2 separate regions of the Homo sapiens genome follow, and region 2 is linked to region 1. Evidence: promoter capture Hi-C in 16 types of primary human blood cells and fetal thymus (Javierre and others, 2016). All regions are on one chromosome and are shown on one strand. The core of a region is centred on a gene start or on the middle of the fragment in contact, and the rest is flanking DNA. Distances in the headings are between cores, read along the strand shown. Region 1 holds the start of IFITM5 (interferon induced transmembrane protein 5). Region 2 holds the start of SCGB1C1 (secretoglobin family 1C member 1).

Region 1 (2,781 bases), core at 212-2,711:
GGCCAAGCAGGGCTGCTGAGCTGCGGGGGGCGCTCCCGCCACTGACTCTGGGGGCTGGCCCTGTGGCATTTGGCTTTGGTGGTCCCTAGGGCAGCTCCTTCCCCCACGCTAGGCAGGAAAGAGGCCAGGAGGCACTTTCTGGAACCAGGCACTTTTAATCGTGGAACCGAGGGGCCTGGAGTGTGAGGAGGGAGGGGCAGGATCGGGGGCAGAGTTAGGGCCCGGGAACTCTCGGGTTAGGGTGAAGACCCCGGGGTCTGACTGGTTCAGCCTTAGGTGCCCATGTTGGGGCTGGAGGGCCCCAGGATCAGGATGGGGCAGGGATGGAGGCCCCACAGAAGGAGGGCCAGGCTCCGGGGAGTCAGTATTGGGCCCCAGGGGCAGCAGCCTGGGGTCAGTGTCCTGGGGCTAGTGCCCCAGATCAGGACCCAGCCTGTCAGTCATAGTCCGCGTCATCAAACTTGGTGCTGAAGAAGGCGGCAGAGTCCTTGGCCAGCCGGGCCAGGTGCAGGGCACCAGTCACCACCAGCCCCAGGAGCAGCAGTGGCGGCACCAGCGTCCACATCGCGGCCAGGATGTTGTAGCACTTGGCTTTGGAGCCAAAACGCCGGGCCGCTTCCAGGTCACCAACCACCTTCTGATCTCGGGCCTGCAGAGAGACCAGACCACAGGGCCAGATCTCTATGTGTCCTCGGGGCCTGGGGGCCCTTCCCCACCCACACCCTGGGCACCTGGAAGGCCCCTACTGCACCCAAAATCTGGATGGAGGGGTGTGGCCTGAGGAGATACTCCTTGGGGCCCCAGCTATGGACCCGGGGGCCATCCCAGGCCAGTGTCAGCCTATCAGAGCTCTCTATGGGTGAGGGTCCCCCAGGGTGCTGAGACACCCCCCACCCTGCCAGCCAGGAGCTGAAGTCAAAGGGACCTCTGTTCCAGAAGCCCACAGCATGTGAACCCCCTCTTGATTGCAGAGACCTCTGTGGGTGCCTCCCAATGGCCTCTGTGCTCTTGGATGGGCCAGACCCCGTTAAGAAGAGGCCCCCCGGCCTTGCCTTCGTGAGGAGCTCTTTCCCGGCCATACTGATAGCTGTGCCCACAGAGCCCCTCACGGACAAGCAGAGCCCCCCGCGGCCCCCAGCACGGCAAGGACCCCCCACGGAGCTCCCCATCCCTCCCCCTTCCCCCCACCTTGATGGAGTAGTGGAGCCTCCCCCGCAACCTCGGTAGGGCCCCTGCCCACCTTGATGGAGTAGGCCAGCGCCAGGAAGCCGAGGCAACACAGATTCAGGTAGAGGGTGCTGAACACCGACCAGATCAAGTGGTCTCGAGGCGGGGGGTGCGGGGCCCCCAGTGTGAGGGCTGTGTGGGCACCGGCCTTGCTGGGCGTGGGGGCCCGGGTGTCCTCGCGGGGATACGCCGTGTCCATGGGTTCCAGCGCCGTCTCTTCCACACTCAGACTGGTGCTGGGAGGGTGGGCACCCGCTCACTTATAGCCCTGTCGCCCTCCCGGCCCAGCCCCTCAACGCTATATATAACACAAATTACAGCCTGCGGGCCGAGGGTGCGGCCCGCCCCTTAGCCCCCACCCCAGGGAGCCCCTGTCCGAGGCTGCCTTGGACCACCCAGCAGGGTCCCTCCTGACAGACATCCCATCTGGGAGCCCCCCGCTTGGAAGGCTACGGCCGGGCAGTGGCAGAGACCCCCACCCATCCCCCCACCCCCATCAAAGGCTGCTGGCCAAGTGGGCAGTGGGCAGACCACTGGCCAGAGCCCCCTCCGTCCAGGCCAAGAAGAGTTGGAGGTGTCGCCTCAGGGCCATGGGCCTCATAATTCAGGGATGTACAGGAGCCCCCTCCTCAGAACCAGAGCTGCTGAAACTGCAGCCCCTTCATTCCCAGAACTCAACTCTGCCCCTAACACTCTCAGAGCACCAGCGCCAGGCCCTAGGAGCGCAGGCATCCCTGCAAGGGGGACAGGGAGGGCGGCTGTCGGAGGAGGGCGCGAGAGAGAAGGAGAGAACCACATGGGGGGAAAGCCAGGGGGTGCAGCCTGTTAGGAGCCGGCAGGGGAACCCCCAGGGACCAGCAACAGCTGTTAACACTGGTGTCGGGATGCAGGGAGCCTGTGGGCTCCTGTGGTGGACACTCCCCTCAGCCTCCTCGGCTGCCCTCCCTGATCCCAGAATGTCTGTGGTGAGTGGTCCTGTTTAGGGCTCAAGGTCCGCCCCAGTCTTGTCTCTGGCTGTAGATGCCTGTGTGTGCTGACGACTCACATTTATGTCTTCAGCCCAGACTTCCCCCCAAAGACATTGGCTTGGTCCCCAGCTCTGGACACACACACGCAACTCCTGCTCTGTGGACCTCCACCCACGTGCCAACAATAGACCCTGGATCCTCCCTCCCAACCTCCTCTGCCAAGCCTTCCCCGGAGCAGTGGTGGCAACTGCACCGGGCCAGAAGGCTCAGCTTCCCCGTCTCCCAGTCGGCCACACTCCTGAGTGCCCAGGACCAAGCTGCCCTCCCTCCTCCAGGACGCACACTCGCCACCTGCAGGGGATGGTTGGGTGGGGGGTTCCTTGCTGCTGTGCTTGAGCCTGTGAACCCCAAATATCTGAGACAGGTCTCGGTTAATTTAGATTATTTTGCCAAGATTGAGGATGTGCCTGTGACAGCCTCTGGAGCTCCTGAGGATCTGTACCCAAGGTGGTCGGAGCACAGTTTGGTTTTATACATTCTAGGGACACAGGAGACATCAGTCAACATATGTAAGATGAACATTGGT
Region 2 (2,897 bases), core at 255-2,754, 110 kb before region 1:
ACATCTGAACAGACACCTCACCAAAGAAGATCTACAGATGGCAAGTAAACACATTGAAACCACAATGTGGTTACAATTGAAAACCACAATGAGATAGCACAGCTGGTCTATATCTGTTAGAATTGCTAAACTCTTTTAAAAATGACAAATTGCTGAAGGAAAAACAAGAACTCTTTTCATTGCCAGTGGAACACAGCGTATAAGACCAAAATACGCCACCCCAAAACCTAACCCTAACCCTAACCCCTAACCCCTAACCCTAACCCTAACCCTAACCCTAACCCCTAACCCCTAACCCTAACCCTAACCCTAACCCCTACCCCTAACCCCTAACCCTTACCGGTGACCCTACTGTATCCCTGACTCCTAACCAACGTTGATCCCTAACCCTAAACCCCTTACTGTAACTATAATCTTCATCCCACCCTATCCCTAGCCTTAGTGCCATCCCCCAGGCTTTTTCCAGGATGGGATTTTATGTGATTGTTTCGAATAGGTGGAAATCTCTGCTCATTTAGGAGTCGTTCAATGTAACAAGGATCTTGGTCTTCACAGAGACCCTAAACGCGTGTGGCCCAGGGCCATGTGGATGCCATCAGCCACTAGGTGGCAGCAGGGGCCCTTTGGATTTGAACAATGCAGCTCAGTCAGAGGGCTGGACTGGGACACCCCTACTCATGGTCTCTCTTGGCATGGTTTTGTTTGGTGACTCCAGGTGTCCCAACCTCCTGTGTCCATTGTAATATGTCCTGGGACCATCTCCCCCAGGGCCTTCAACCTGGGGGGTTGAACCCCAGGATAGCAACCCCAAGCCCTCCTTGCTATCCTGGCTACTGATGGAAGATGTACCTCAAGCCTGTCCCATTCCTCACTTCCTGCTGAGACCTGGCCCCAACATGGCCAGCTCTATGTTCCTCAGACCCTCTCAGGCCACCTTCTCTCTTCTAGGCACTGTCACTGGGCTTCTCCCCACCCCATAGATCCACAGCCCCCAGGTAGTCCTACAGCTGTGTCCACTCGTGCAGCCTGCACCCCCTTCCCCTACTCGGCCACCCCATCTGAGTAGTAAGGGGCCCCTGCCTGATTGGAGACCCCCAGATGCAGACCCAGATCACACAGCACACTGATAAGAGGAGGGATTCGCACCTTAAAAGAAAGGCGTGGGACCAACCCCAGATCCCACCACTCTCGGCCTCAAGGGCAGGCATGACTAGAGGCCCTTGGTGGCCAGGACCCACTGCCTTCTTCACCGATCAGTTGGCATGGCCTCTCACCAGTGTTCCCTCCTAACACACCTGTTCTCTCTCTCACACACCCTAAAGCCGCTTGCCAACCACCTGTCACACAGCCACTCCATGCCTGTTGCTGCTTGGCACCCACTGGGGGCCAGGGATGTGAACAAACCTCATCTAAGCTGGCTGCCGGGTCCTAATGGGCAGGTCCGGTCCGCCCTCTAGGAGAGGTGCTGTCCGGTGAGGCATAAAATCCCGGGATTCTGGCTGGAGGCAGCTCCTGAGACTGCTGGCATGAAGGGGAGCCGTGCCCTCCTGCTGGTGGCCCTCACCCTGTTCTGCATCTGCCGTGAGTCTGTGCCACTGGGGTTTCCAGAACATTCAGGGGTGGGGGGGAGTGGGGGGTACCTGAGAAGGTAAAATCCTGGCATCGGGCCTCTGCAGTGAACACTCCACCTGCTTCTGTCACAGAAGTGGGCAAGGACCCTGCAGAACCCGCGCCCACCCTACTCCACCCCAACCAAGGACAAAGCCCAGCTGACCCAACACCAGCCCAGTGTCTCCTACCCCAGCCCAGTCCAGCCTGACCTGACCCTTCAAGCCTCTGGTCATAATAGCCTCTCATCAGGGGAAATTTCCCCCACACCAGGAGCTTAACTTTCCTTCCCTGGTGATCCCAGGGAATGCTGAGTGGAAATTGGAGCAGCTAAGATTAAGGGGGATGTGGAGGGGTCTTCGGGCAAGGTGGAGTTGGAGGTGTTGTGGAGGAAGCCCTGGGGAGGAGAGGTGGGCATTGAAGGGGAAGGTCTGGAGACCATGGAGGTTGGAGCCCTGGGGCAGGTCCAGGGCTGTGGTTGCACCAGAGTCACCCTGTCCTGTCCTGGCATCATCTCGCTCGTGATGCAGGGATGGCCACAGGGGAGGACAACGATGAGTTTTTCATGGACTTCCTGCAAACACTACTGGTGGGGACCCCAGAGGAGCTCTATGAGGGGACCTTGGGCAAGTACAATGTCAACGAAGATGCCAAGGCAGCAATGACTGAACTCAAGTCCTGTATAGATGGCCTGCAGCCAATGCACAAGGCGGAGCTGGTCAAGCTGCTGGTATGAGGGCGGCGGGCACCCCATTTTCTAAAGATCTGCAGCCTTACCAAGACCACCCAACACAGCACCCACACAGCCTACCCCACCCACAGACATCCACCACCCACAGACATTGCACCCGCATCAGCCAGCTCAGGTGGACACCCCAGACCTCCTGTCCACCGAGCAGCCCCCAGACTCCATAGACCTCCTCCCCAGTCTGTGGGATACTCCTCCATGCACACATGTGAACATACACAGAGATCCAAACACAGGTGCAGACATGAAATGTACACTGCGTGCACACATGTATAAACACGTTCACACCCACATGCTCACACTGGGATATGCACACACATACATGTGTGCACACCATCACATGTGCACACACACCTCCCAGCTGCTGGGAGGAGATAGGCAGCAATATGCCAGACCCCCCCCCACTGAGGGCCTTGCTTGCCTGATGGAGCTGTGGCTCTCCACTTATTGAGCACAGCCCTCTTAGTCCACATGTGTCTGCCTTCCAGGTGCAAGTGCTGGGCAGTCAGGACGGTGCCTAAGTGGACCTCAGACATGGCTC

The links. The method cuts DNA at HindIII sites, captures the fragments that hold promoters and counts their contacts. A CHiCAGO score of 5 or more calls a contact.
Region 2: the fragment with the promoter of SCGB1C1 here is called in contact with the fragment with the promoter of IFITM5 in region 1 in 14 of 17 cell types (endothelial precursors, total CD8 T cells, activated CD4 T cells and 11 more); the score reaches 11.2 in endothelial precursors.

Annotation. Positions count from the first base shown.
Region 1 is chr11:298,065-300,845 of GRCh38, forward strand. It overlaps IFITM5 (interferon induced transmembrane protein 5), which reads right to left and starts at 1,462. Exons shown (of 2, transcript NM_001025295.3): 1 at 1,241-1,462; 2 at 136-649. The coding sequence starts at 1,426. The coding sequence ends at 437. RefSeq lists an enhancer at 633-792. The HindIII fragment of the contact is 13,921 bases long and covers 1-2,781 here.
Region 2 is chr11:191,574-194,470 of GRCh38, forward strand. SCGB1C1 (secretoglobin family 1C member 1) reads left to right here and starts at 1,505. Exons shown (of 3, transcript NM_145651.3): 1 at 1,505-1,581; 2 at 2,139-2,338; 3 at 2,845-2,897. The coding sequence starts at 1,527. The coding sequence ends at 2,877. The HindIII fragment of the contact is 15,974 bases long and covers 1-2,897 here.